4 separate regions of the Homo sapiens genome follow, and regions 1, 2 and 4 are each linked to region 3. Evidence: promoter capture Hi-C in 16 types of primary human blood cells and fetal thymus (Javierre and others, 2016). All regions are on one chromosome and are shown on one strand. Each heading gives the region's core, a stretch centred on a gene start or on the middle of the fragment in contact. The rest is flanking DNA. Distances are from core to core; before and after follow the strand shown.

Region 1 (3,225 bases), core at 335-2,834, 5.1 Mb after region 3:
TAATTAGCCTGAACTCTTCTTAGACTCTCCTCACTCTCACTCTCCCAGATCATCACAAGTGAGAAAAGTCCATTTGTAAAAGGGCCTGAAAAAGGGTGCACAAGGAGTCATTTCTAAACTCTTATGAATTACACAGTAGTTGGATGTCTCTGTTCTCATGGCCCCAGTTCGGTCTCTCTTACTTTGAAAAAGTGAAAATCTGAAAGATTTGCCGTCACTCTGCTATTTGCCCTGCCGTGTACTTACCCAAGGCAATGCCACAGAACAAAACTCTGGAAAGGGGGAAAAGGGGTGGGGAGGAAGGGGAAGGAAAAACAGGAGAAAACATCAATACCTCACAATAATACCTTAGCCACATAATCAGGTCAGTTTAAGAAACTGGGGCTCAAATGGGGAAGAGGCCTTTGTTCCTTTTGAAAATAAAAGCTTACCTAGTGAATATAAATTGGCAATTTATAACCTTTAACAAGTGATTTTATTTAAAAATACTTTTTGCTGTAATGTGTGAGTTTATAAATGTAGTTTCTCCTTTTGGCTTTTAGTTCCTATTATTCCTAATTCCTAAAATTAGGAATGTATATGCACAATTTTTAAAAAAAATGGCTAAAAAATCATAAAATCTTTATGGCAGGCTGGGCGCGGTGGCCCACACCTATAATCCCAGCACTTTGGGAGGCAGAGGCGGGTGGATTACCTGAGGTCAGGAGTTTGAGACCAACCTGGCCAACATGGTGAAACCCCGTCTCTACTGAAAATACAAAAATTAGCTGGGCATGGTGGCACGTGCCTGTAATCCCAGCTACTCGGGAGGCTGAGGCAGGAGAATCGCTTGAACCTGGGAGGTAGAGGTTGCAGTGAGCCGAGATGGTGCCACTGCACTCCAGCCTGGGCAACAGAGCAAGACTTGGTCTAAAAAAAAAAAAATTCTTTATAGCAATCAAAAGCACGAATAAATTAACTAATATTTATTGAACACATAGCATAGGCCAGTGGAGAACAAATTAGACTGGTACCCGTCCTTGTAGAACATGTAACCTGTGGGCAATATAAACACATAGACTTTAGAATAAAATAAACTTATATTCATATCCAGGAATAGCTCATAACTTGTTATGTGACTTTCAGCAAGTTATTTAATCACATTTTCTTTTCTCAACAATGAGAAGTAAAAAATACATTATTCATGGGGTTATGAAGAGGATTAAATAATAGAAAGTGCATAAAGAGGTAGTCACTATTCCCAGATCACAGTAGATTTCTTGATAAATGGTAGCCCTTAGTATTAAATTACTATTTCTTTTTAAATATCTTGCTTAAACACACTTTGATGTGTTTTCTCTGTTATCAGACTAGTCTTCTGTTTTCAGCCTAGAAGGATAATCAGAGTATTAGAACTGTTTATTTAACACAGATAAAAATATCTAAATTGCATGTATTAATTTCTATACGTTTTTATACTTGAAATTTTCACTTGAGGGCTTTTAGGTAATATATCATTGTTTATATAATACAGTATTTTCTCGTACATTAGAATATTTTTACTTTTTATTAAAATCTCTCACATAAAAATATTTCACTAGTACTGGAGAGACATTAATTAAATATAAATCAAGTCAAATTGAAATTCTTTACTTTTCTTCCTCCCTTAACCCCCTCTGCCATTTTCATTTCAAAATGTTAGAATATAGACCATCATTTAAATAATTGAAAAGACCTAATTAGCAAAATGTGGAAATGTAATACTCAGTTATCCACTCTTGTAAAATAAAGATAATGAGCCCTTCGTTAACTATGATTTTATTTTTAAAGAAGTGTGGATTTAATCATGAATTCCTATTGAAAATTTGTTAAATGACTGACTTCTGGGGGTATATTCTAGGCTCAATGATGTATTCAATTCCTATCCTCATACCTTCTTCTCCATTAACAGTTAAGTACAACAAGAACTAATGGTCAGAATAATGGCCTTGAGGCTGGGCAAGAATCCAGGCAGTAACGGGAAGATGTAATCATATTCTCCGCATGGTAGGCTGTAGACATGCCTTTCAACAACAAAGATTATAACAAGCAGGTATAAAACAGTGGTGGTGTGTCAAATACTGCCCTGACTCACAGGGAAATTCCCGGTTGGCTTTGTTTGTTTCCATCTTGGAGATGTGGGAGTCTGTGCCTTCCCTCCTGCACACAATGTCCAATCACCTTACCCTCTTTTCAGGCTCCCTAATAAATGTCTGGTACTTTTGTGTGTAGCCTTGTCCAACTATGATAAGGGCCAAGGAAGTGAGGGTCAAAAAGATCTCAGCTGAGTTCCCTTCTGCTTTCTGATCCTTCCTGTAACTGTGCATTACAGCCTCCTCCACTTCTCTAGCTGTTCTCTAGTGCATCTAGTCTATCTTATTCATTTGAAGTTAACTTGCTTGTCAGTGGCTCCTTTAATTCTTTATTAGTTTATGGGACACCAGTGAAATTAAGTATGGTTGGGAGGAGAAAGACAGAGAAGGATACATAAAAAACATAGATTAACAATTCCATGAATATCCTTCTACTCAGAGGTTCTAGCTACCACTTCTATACTCAGATAAAGTAACCCCTTCCAATTAATTGAGGTTTTACTATATATTTCATGAAAAACTAAATTTTTGACTCATCAAGTAACCACTGCTATATAAAGGCACTGGGTCACATTAGAGGGGGATCCTCTGTTCTCTAATGGCTTTAGACTCTGTTGAGTACAAAGCTTAAAGCCAAGACCAGCCAAAAACGTACTATATAGGGTTTGCATTTATTATATGTTTCCCATGTGCCAGGTCATCGTGCTGAACTTAAACACACCTGCCTTTGACAACTCTGATATTTTTATTCTCTTCAGAAATGTGGGATATTTTATATATCTCATGTTTAGTAACTGTTTACTATTTACTAAATATACTTCACACAAAACTTGAATTTGGATTTTTCTGCAGTTTTTTAAAAAGTTTCTATTTCAGAACATTTAAGTCTCATTACCCAGCTTCAATAATCAACATTTTGCCCATGTTGACTGTTTACTTTGTTTGTCTATCAACAAGTATTTCTTGAGAACTTTGTAAGTGCCAGACCATTGTATTTTGTAATCCCAGATAAAAAATGCTGCTACAGCTTTTGAGCCACAGGATGTGTTGGCTGCTGTTCTCTGTGAACGTAAGACGTCAGAAGGATCAGCTGGGTCATTGTCCTCCAGTCAGA
Region 2 (2,895 bases), core at 25-2,524, 5.1 Mb after region 3:
TGGGCTCACTAAGCCAAGATTCTGCATTTAACATTGCAGCTTGGGGAGTTAGAAAGGGTGCTCACAGTTTGATTGGCTTACTAAAACATGGAAAAGATGAATTGGAAGTGCTGGACATGCCTTGGTTTAATCTAGAGGATGGGATTAAAAGGTTTAGGAATATTGGGAAATTAGATTTTTCACTTAAGAACTACTCATCTCGGGTGGATCATGAGGTCAGGAGATCGAGACCATCCTGGCTAACAAGGTGAAACCCCGTCTCTACTAAAAATACAAAAAATTAGCCGGGCGCGGTGGCGGGCGCCTGTAGTCCCAGCTACTCGGGAGGCTGAGGCAGGAGAATGGCGTGAACCCGGGAAGCGGAGCTTGCAGTGAGCAGAGATTGCGCCACTGCAGTCCGCAGTCCGGCCTGGGCGACAGAGCGAGACTCCGTCTCAAAAAAAAAAAAAAAAAAAGAACTACTCATCCACACTGGGAAGGTCAAGAAAGCATACCTTTCACCAATACTATGAGAAAGAAATTTGCGAGGAGAGCTCCAGCATCTTTTTCAGAACTCTGTGATGGCTCTTCTCTGTAGGCCAGAGCTCACTGCAGTCACTGAACTGGAAAACCTAAATATAATGGAAGTAAAGGATCCCAGGGTGGCAAGGGTCAAGTAATGGGACTCAACCACCAAAGGCAAGGTGAAGTGGTTATCATAATGACAGAGCCAAAGGAACAATTAGAATAATCTCACTTGTAGACCTATGCTTTGGCTAGTTGATCATGGTTTTCCTAGACGTGAAATAGATAGGAAGCCTACTGAAGTCTTAACTTGATCTGTATAAGCAGAAAACTTCTAAGTCAAGTGACGAAAGTTGAACTCGAATCATAAAAACAGAATCGTGGTCCCTTAATTCCCAAACTTGAGCCACTTTATAGAGCCCAAAACCCTTTGATTGAAGGGGAGGACCTCAAAGGGACCCTGGTCCATAACCAAATGTTTATACTGTTAGTCTTTCTCCTAGTCCTCCGCAAAGGGATGTACAACCTTTACCAACGTAACTGTGCATTAGAAAAAGGGAATAATCAGATCTTTTGTGAACTAGTGGACACTGGCTCTCTGAAGTGACACTAATTTCAGGAGATCCAAAGTGCTACTGTCAGGGTAGCAGCTTATGGAGGTCAGGTGATCAGCAGAGTTTTAGCTTAGTTCCATCTCACAATGGGCCCAGTGAATTCCTGAACCTATCCTGTGGTTATCCCCTAGTTCTAGAATGTATAATTAGAATACAGTCAGCAGCTGACAGAATAATCCACACATTGGTTTCCTTACCTATGGAGTGAGGGCTATTATGGTGGAAAAGGCCAAGTAGAAGCCACTAGAACTATCTGTACTTAGGAAAATAGTAAACCAAAAGCAATGCTCAATTCCTATAGGGACTGAAGAGATTAGTGCCACCATAAGTACTTGAAGGAAGGCGGGGTGGTGATTCCTACCATATGTCCATTCAACTCGCCTATTTAGCCTGGGCAGAAGACAGATGGATTATCACAAACTTAACTAGGTGGTGACTCCAATTGCAGCTACAGTACCAGATGTATTGCTTGAGCAAATTAACACAACTCCTGGTTCCTGGTATGCAGCTACCTGGTATGATCTGGCAAATGCCTTTCTCTCCATCCCTGTCTATAAGGCCGACCAGAAGCAGTTTGCTTTTAGCTAGCAAGGCTAGAAATGCACCTTCATGTCCTACCTCAGGGCATATCAACTCACCAGCCCTGTCCTAATTTTGTTCACAGGAATCTTGATTGCCTTTTCTTTCCACATCACATTGGTCCATTACATTGACGACATTATGCTCACTGGACCTAATGAGTGAGACATAGCAACTACTCCAGACCTATTGGTAAGACATTTGCATGTCAGAAGTGGGAAGTAAATCCAACAAAAATTCAAAGGCTTTTTCATGTCTCAGTAAAATTTCTAGGGGTCCAGTGGTATGAGGCATGTTGAGATACCCCTTCTAAGGTAAGTTTTTGCATCTGCCCCCTCCTACAACCAGAAGAGGCATGACATGCGGCAGGCCTCTTTGGATTTTGAAGACGTTTCCTCATTTGAGTTTGTTACTCTGGCCCATTTACTGAGTGACTTGAAAAGCTGCTAGTTTGGAGTAGGACTCAGAATAGGAAAGGTTCTGCAATAGGTCCAGGCTATTGTGTAAGCGGCTTTGTTGCTTGGGACATATGAACTTGCAGATCCAGTGGTATTTGAAGTGTCAGTGGCAGATAGAGATGCTGTTGGAACCTTTGGCAGGCCCACATAGATGAATCTCAGTGCAGACCCTTAGTATTTTGAAGAAAGACCTGTTATCCTATGCAGATAACTACTCTTTTGAGAAACAGCTCTGGGCCTACTGCTGGGCTTCAGTAGGGACTGAATGCTTACCGTGGTCAATTAAGTTACCATGCGACCTGAGCTGCCCATCATGAGCTGGGTGTTATCTGACCCACAAGCCATAATGCTGGGTGTGGACAGCAGGAGTACATCATCAAAGAACGTGTTATGTATGTGACTGGGCCCAGGCAGGACCTGAAGGCAAAAGCAAGTTACATGAAGAAGTGACCCAAATGCCCATGGTCCCTGTTCCTGCTACCTTGCCTTTTTTCTCCCAAGCTCATGGAGAGTTCCCTATGATGAGTTGACAGGAAGAAACAACATGGGCCTAGTTTATAGATGGTTCTGTGTGATATGTAGGCATCACCTGAAAGTGGATAGCCATAGTACACCAGCCCTTCTCTGGGACATCCCTGAAGGATAGTGGTAAAGAGAAATCCTCCCAGTGGGCAGAACTTTGGGCAGTGCACCTGGTTGTTCATCTTGTTACCCCATGTTGGCTAAAAGTAGAGGTCCTG
Region 3 (3,015 bases), core at 157-2,656:
AAATTTAAATTTTAAAAGTAAGGCACTTTGCAAAGTGTCAGCCCTTGGTATGTACTCAATAAATGGTAGCTTGTGTCCTCTCCTGTCCTTCTTCACATCCCTTGGCTTATCATCTGCAAGAAGGGGCAGTAAGGCTCTTTGGTAAGCGGGTTTCTTTGACTGGAATGCCCAATCCTCTACTGCCAACCCTCTATCCATCTATTGTAAAAACTACAGAATTCCTGGCCATCTAACTGGGCAACAAAAGTGAAGGCCAAGAGAAGATACCCAATGCCATCTTCTCCCATTCCAGCTGGAGGACTAAGACTCTAGGAGGCAAGGGGAAAGGGTGTCCTGGCTTTACTGTGAGAACTGGAGCAACTAAATTTTCTTCTCTGGGAGTCAGTTTTCCCTTTAGAAGGAGAGAGCTGGGCTGGAGGGCCCCAGGGGAATATGGATCGGTGGCAAAAAGAATGCTCAGCAAGCAATTTAACTCCTCAGACCGTGCCCCATCTTCAAAATGAGTGACAATAAAATGAATAATTGCACGTGGTCCACAAGGCCCCTGAATTTAAGTAAATCACACAAAGTGCTTAGCAGAGTCCCATGAACATAACGCGTTCCATAGATGTTACCTCTATTCCTGCTATTGTCATCATTCCGACCCTAACATTCAAGGTGTCTCTATTAAGCAAAAGGATTCCTTTGTGAATAATTTTAATCCGCCAATGTACTCAAGGGTCTATCTTAAGCACAGCTCTAGAGCCCTGATTGTAGCGCTTTCCATGGCCTGACGACCAGCTTTCCTGTCTCAAGGGGAAATCTGAGAATGGCCGAACAGCCATGACAGTCCTCTCGAAGAGTTCATTCCCCCTTCTCTCCGCGACCTGCTGAGGTCTGAGCCCGACTTCCCCAGCACGCCCATCTCAGTCACCATTGGTCGCCTCCTCGCTGGCGTGACTAAGACCCAGCCCTCTTCTCGCTGGGACCACTCTGAGGCGATCTGCGGAAGCTGAGGGGCCTCGGAGGAGGGGCCGCGATGCATCTCGGGCTTTGTAGTCCACCTGCACAACTACAGCCAGAGAGCGGGGCCTCACGAACCGGAGAACTACAATCCCCAGCAGCCGGGCGGAAGCGGAGCGAGGGGGGGCTCGCGTCACGTGGGCGTTCGGCCTGGGCGGGCTATTTCTCAGTGCGGCGGCGGCGGCGGTGGCGGCGGCTCCGGGGACCGGGGCCTTTTGTTTGGAGCGGCTGCGGGGGGGCCCCGGAGCGGCGAGGCCGGCGGCCTTCCCCAGCTTGCTCGGTCCCGGCCACCCCTCGCGGGGGTGGGGGGCCGCCCCCTGGGCCGGGCATCTCCTCAGGCGCCGCCGCCCCGCCCTAGGCCGGCCCCGCCCGGCCTGAGGGGAGGAACCGGCCGGGCCTCGCCGCGCGGCCCAGCCACCTCCGGAGTCGCCGCCTCTGCTCTCAGTGCCCCGGATCGGAGGCCGTCCATCGCCCCTCGGGCCGACGCCATGAAGATCAAAGATGCCAAGAAACCCTGTAAGACGGGGGCTGGGGCCCGCCAGGTTGGGAGGGCACCCTTGGGCCCCGTCTGAAAGCCCCTTGGCTGGGCGGTCGGCTTCCAAGCCCGTCGCTCCTCGCCGGCGCTTCGTCCGGTATGGGGGCGGAGGGACCATTTGAGCCACGAGTTCGAGGCTTCCGTCCTCCCCATCCCCCTATTCATGCATGGTGAATGCCTGCCGCCCCCTAGCCTTTCCTCCCACTTTCTCTTCGAGATCTGGGAGGTGCCAGAGGGAATTTCTGATTCTGATTTTTGTCAAACCAGACTAGTCTCCTCTCCCAGCTCCCCCTGAATTCAGGTTGAAAAGAGGCGGTCGCGGCTGTCAGGTTGCGCTGGCGGCTTTTAGCACCTGTTTTTAGGGATTTCCGGGCTTCCTGCTTGTGTCCTTGAAATGCCGGTGGGTTCCTGGGAGTTGTCACTGTTGTTACAGTTGGAGCTTTCAAACGTACGTGCATGCAGTCTGCCAGTGTGTAATTGCTTTGGCTTGTTTTTGTTTAGAATATCAACTAGTTCATGTTTGTTTTAGAAAACGCAGATAAACAAGAAAGATAAAGTCACCCGTATTCCCCGCACCCGGAGCGAACCGCTATTAATATTATGGTGAATACCCGTAGATATTTTTCTATGCATGTACTTAAATTCTGACTATGCTTTTAGAAAGGTCGACTTTCATTTGCTTCCTTTTATGTTTAGTCTTTTAAAAACCTTTTATTCCAGTAATTGACTTATTTAATCACCCAGCCATTGTGATTGTCACTCTTTTTAAGTATAGCCTCCCAGAAGGACTAGGAACGTGGGGATTCATGCTCATCTTAGAGTCGTATTGATACTTTTGCTGTTTTTACAGTGTTTCATGTGATCTCTTTAACTGTTAAGAAATCCACAACTATAAAACAGGGCGCTGACACCTTCCCTGCCCGCCTATCGGGGTTCCTGTAAAACTCACCTGAGAGGCAACAAGCCAAAACCCTGTGAAAACTACAAATTCCTATATAACTGTAAGGTAATTTGGTCTTAACTTCACAGGTGAGGAAATTGAACTTAGCCCCAGAGTAACTTTTCCAAGCATGTACCAACCATGTGCTATGTGGTTCATAACTCTAAGGGGACTGACTCATAATACAGTGTTCTTTCTCTTGCACCCATAGAGCATTGTCTAAGTACTTTATCTGGTAGTTTCATCTGTTAATTAAAATTTTTAAAAAATTATTTATAACTGAATAGATCCTGTCATAGTTGTTCAAGAAATCTATAAAATAGTGATGTGAAGGCTTAAATGAAAAGTAATATAGAGAGACTTTAAATTTTCATTTGCTGAATTAAACTAATGCATCTTGAACAGGTGCAGTAATTAGAACACTTGGACATTTTCCCTCACGCATACGTTTTCTCTGCTTCTCTTAGAATTTCCATTTGGTGAACAGTGTATGACCAACTCAAATTCTGACTCTTGTGGTGGTGATTATTTTCTTTTG
Region 4 (3,279 bases), core at 765-3,264, 5.1 Mb after region 3:
TTAAGTTTCCAAATGTATGATAACTGCACTGTAATTATGTGAAGAACATTCTTCTTGTTAGAAGATAAAAGAAAGGTAAAGTATTTGGAGATGAAATTCAACTAATTATCAATGGGTCTGGCAAAAGCAAACATATAAAACAAATGTGACAAAACATCAACAATTTGTGAATCTATGTGAAGGGTATATGAGTGTTCACATTAGTTTTACAACCACTCATTAATATTTAGATTTTATAATGGTCCCTGCTGATGGTATACAATAGTTAACACTTTAACTGCAAATCAAACATTTTCTTTTAAATTACATGACAAGAGAACTTAGATACTGCTATGGTTTGAATGTTTTTGTCCTCTCCAAAAATTCATGTTGAAACTTAATCCACGAAGCAACAGTGCTGGGAGGTGGGGCATTTTGGGAGGTGTTTAGGTGGTCATCAGCACTCTGCTCTTATGAATGGATTAATGCCATTATAAAAGGACTTGAAGGAAGAAGCACATCCCTTTCTGCTCTTCTGCCGTGAGAACACAGCATTCCTCCCCTCCAGAGGACCAGAAAGACCCTCACCTTGATCTTGGACTTCTCAGCCTCTAGAACTGTGTGAAATAAATTTCTGTTCTTTATAAATTACTGAGTTGTTGGTATTCTGTTATAGCAGCACGAAATAAACTAAGACAAATGTATTCAAGGATGATTTCAACAGAATAATTTATAATACAAGAAAACTTTTTAAAAAACTAAATGTCCATTAGTAAGGTATTCTACACTAGGGCTGCTTCTCAAGGCCATAGTACAGTCTAAGGCAGTAGTTTTAGTGCAGGGGACCATTAAATTAAGTACTACGCAGCCACTGATAGGAGTAAGATATCCCAGAGTAGGTTCCATGTGTACTAAAATGCAAAGATGTTGAGGGAAAAAAAACAGGTTGTGAAACAACATGCATACATTTTTTGAAAATATATAAAAATGCTTCCACACTTAACCATATTTGGTGTTTATCTCCCTGAGGCAGCATTTATGAGAACTTTTGTTCTTAGTAATTTTACATTTTTTCTAAGGAGTGTATACTTTTTATATATGGAGATGTGTGTTATACACAAACTCACATACAGGAAAAAAGAAACACCATAATAGAATGTTAATACATACAACATACATATAACAGAATACATAAAAACAAAATACATACACATATAACACAGTAACATACATATAACAGAATACATAAACAGAATATCTCACTCTAAGAGAAATTATACTGCCCTGTTTTTTGAAAATGAGTTACAAAAGCTTGTATTACCTGACTTGTTTTCTATGTGTAAAGATGAATATGTAAACACTGATAGTGGAAACTGTCTTGAAGGATTCACAAAGTAGTTATCTCTTAGAATTTTTTATTTTCTTTATTAACTATATTCTAATTTTTCTCTAATGATTCATATTCATTGACTTTTTAAATTTAAAACATATATATGTGTATGTATAAATGATTTTTAAAGTCTTCAAAAACAATCAGGGGCTAAATAGATTAGGTCTTACCTAGATTGTTCTCCAGGACAGCCTTTTCTCCATCTAATTTTGTTTTGCCATACAAATTTAGGGGAGCTGGTATGTCTTCCTCTCTGTAAGGTGGATTTGTTCCATCAAATACATAATCTGAGCTAATGTAGATGAGAAATGCTCCAACAGCAGCTACAAAAAAAGAAGACAAATCTATTAAATGTTTACATGACATTACTCTTTCATGGAATTTAGAATGGTTTTTCATGATATATAAAAACAAATAACCATCTACAAAACCTTAATTTCTAAAAACTCAGCAATCACTTAATATTTTATGAAAATTTTATAAAGTCATCATTACCTGCTTCCTTTGCTAAATTCCCAGAAGCATCCACATTAAGTTGAGAGGCAGCATCTGGCTGATTTTCTACAACATCTGGTCTTCTCTCTGCTGCACAATGTACTATAACATGGGGCTAGAAGTTAAGCATTGACGTATTTTTAACTCAAAATAAAATGAAAGAGGTATTACAGCCTTCTTAAAGTTAATTCAGAGAAAAATGTGCAGTAAGTCAACATTCTTTCAACTAAGAATAAATCATTGTAATTTCTAATGTAGTTTTGTCATGCTGCTTCTTTTCCCCGCAAGGTTCAAACTTAAAATATTTATAGGCACTGAAAAGAGTATTTCATAATATGCAGACACAAACCAGGAAAAAAACTGTCAACAACTGTATTTCTACTCTGGTGTGACGGTTCATGCATGTAATCCCAACACTTTGGGAGGCTGAGGTGAGACAATGCTTGAGGCCAGGAGTTCAAGATAAGACTAGGCAACATAGTGGTTGGTACTCAATCTCTACAAAAAAATTTAAAAATCAGCCAGTCGTGGTGGCATGAGCCTGTAGTTCTAACTGTTGTGGAGGCCGAGGCAGAAGGATCACTTGAGCCAAGGAATTCAAGGCTACAGTGGGCTGTGATCGATCTACCGTACTTCACCCTGGGCTACAGAGTGAGACCCTGTCTGAAAATAAAACAACCATGTTTCTAGGCTGGGCGCGGTGGCTCAAATCTGTAATCCCAGCACTTTGGAAGGCTGAGGTGGGTGGATCACGTGAGGTCAGGAGTTCAAGACCAGCCTGGCCAACATGGTGAAACCCCATCTCTACTAGAAATACAACAATTAGCCAGGTGTGGTTGCGCATGCCTGTAGTCTCAGGTACTCAGGAAGCTTAGGCAGGAGAATTGCTTGAACCCTGGGAGGCGGAGGCTGCAGTGAGCTCAACTGCACCACTGCACTCCAGCCTGGGCAACAAACCAAGATTACGTCACAAAAACAAGAACAAAACAGAAGTCTTTCTAAATCAAAACAAGTTTTATCCCCCAATTTGGACAAAAGGAAAGAGCTATCATTTATGCAATTAACATGATTTAAATATCTAATAAATCCATGTCAAAGGGAGAATAGTATCAATGATACCGAAAACCTCTCTGAGCCTGCTCCCTCAGCCCTAAAATGAAAATAACTATTTTGCAGTGTTGTGAGGTTTACAGTAACATTTGAAAACCATTTGCAGAGAAAGTATTACTTAGAAGGCACTCTATAAACATAAGCATTTTATAAAATGTCTCATATTTGTCTTTGTCAGCGTGTCAAAATTTAACTTTAAGGTTTACATATACCATGTCATGCTAAATGAAAAAAATGCTACTGCATAATACAACTTTAGAGCTTTCAAACATAGTAATTTCCTTGAGAGCAAGGATAGTTTCTGT

Evidence for each region. The method cuts DNA at HindIII sites, captures the fragments that hold promoters and counts their contacts. A CHiCAGO score of 5 or more calls a contact.
Region 1: a contact is called between a fragment that was not itself captured here and the fragment with the promoter of PANK3 in region 3, in 2 of 17 cell types (total B cells and naive B cells). The highest score is 11.3, in total B cells.
Region 2: the fragment with the promoter of HMMR-AS1 here is called in contact with the fragment with the promoter of PANK3 in region 3 in 4 of 17 cell types (naive B cells, naive CD8 T cells, total B cells and 1 more); the score reaches 9.5 in naive B cells.
Region 4: a fragment that was not itself captured here is called in contact with the fragment with the promoter of PANK3 in region 3 in 1 of 17 cell types (naive CD8 T cells); the score reaches 7.9 in naive CD8 T cells.

Annotation. Positions count from the first base shown.
Region 1 is chr5:163,433,533-163,436,757 of GRCh38, reverse strand. It overlaps a transcript of LOC105377700 not described here. Among named protein-coding and RNA genes, the nearest start is that of CCNG1, 2.4 kb to the left of the region's middle. The HindIII fragment of the contact is 2,311 bases long and covers 429-2,739 here.
Region 2 is chr5:163,492,437-163,495,331 of GRCh38, reverse strand. It overlaps HMMR-AS1 (HMMR antisense RNA 1), which reads left to right and starts at 1,274. Exons shown (of 4, transcript NR_109892.1): 1 at 1,274-1,633; 2 at 1,783-1,889. The HindIII fragment of the contact is 5,178 bases long and covers 1-2,895 here.
Region 3 is chr5:168,577,759-168,580,773 of GRCh38, reverse strand. PANK3 (pantothenate kinase 3) reads left to right here and starts at 1,406. Exons shown (of 7, transcript NM_024594.4): 1 at 1,406-1,518. The coding sequence starts at 1,491. RefSeq lists a silencer at 1,129-1,458 and enhancers at 975-1,518, 1,609-1,678. The HindIII fragment of the contact is 14,951 bases long and covers 1-3,015 here.
Region 4 is chr5:163,512,255-163,515,533 of GRCh38, reverse strand. It overlaps MAT2B (methionine adenosyltransferase 2 non-catalytic beta subunit), which reads right to left. Exons shown (of 7, transcript NM_013283.5): 3 at 1,865-1,979; 4 at 1,540-1,692. Among named protein-coding and RNA genes, the nearest start is that of MAT2B, 8.3 kb to the right of the region's middle. The HindIII fragment of the contact is 1,444 bases long and covers 1,293-2,736 here.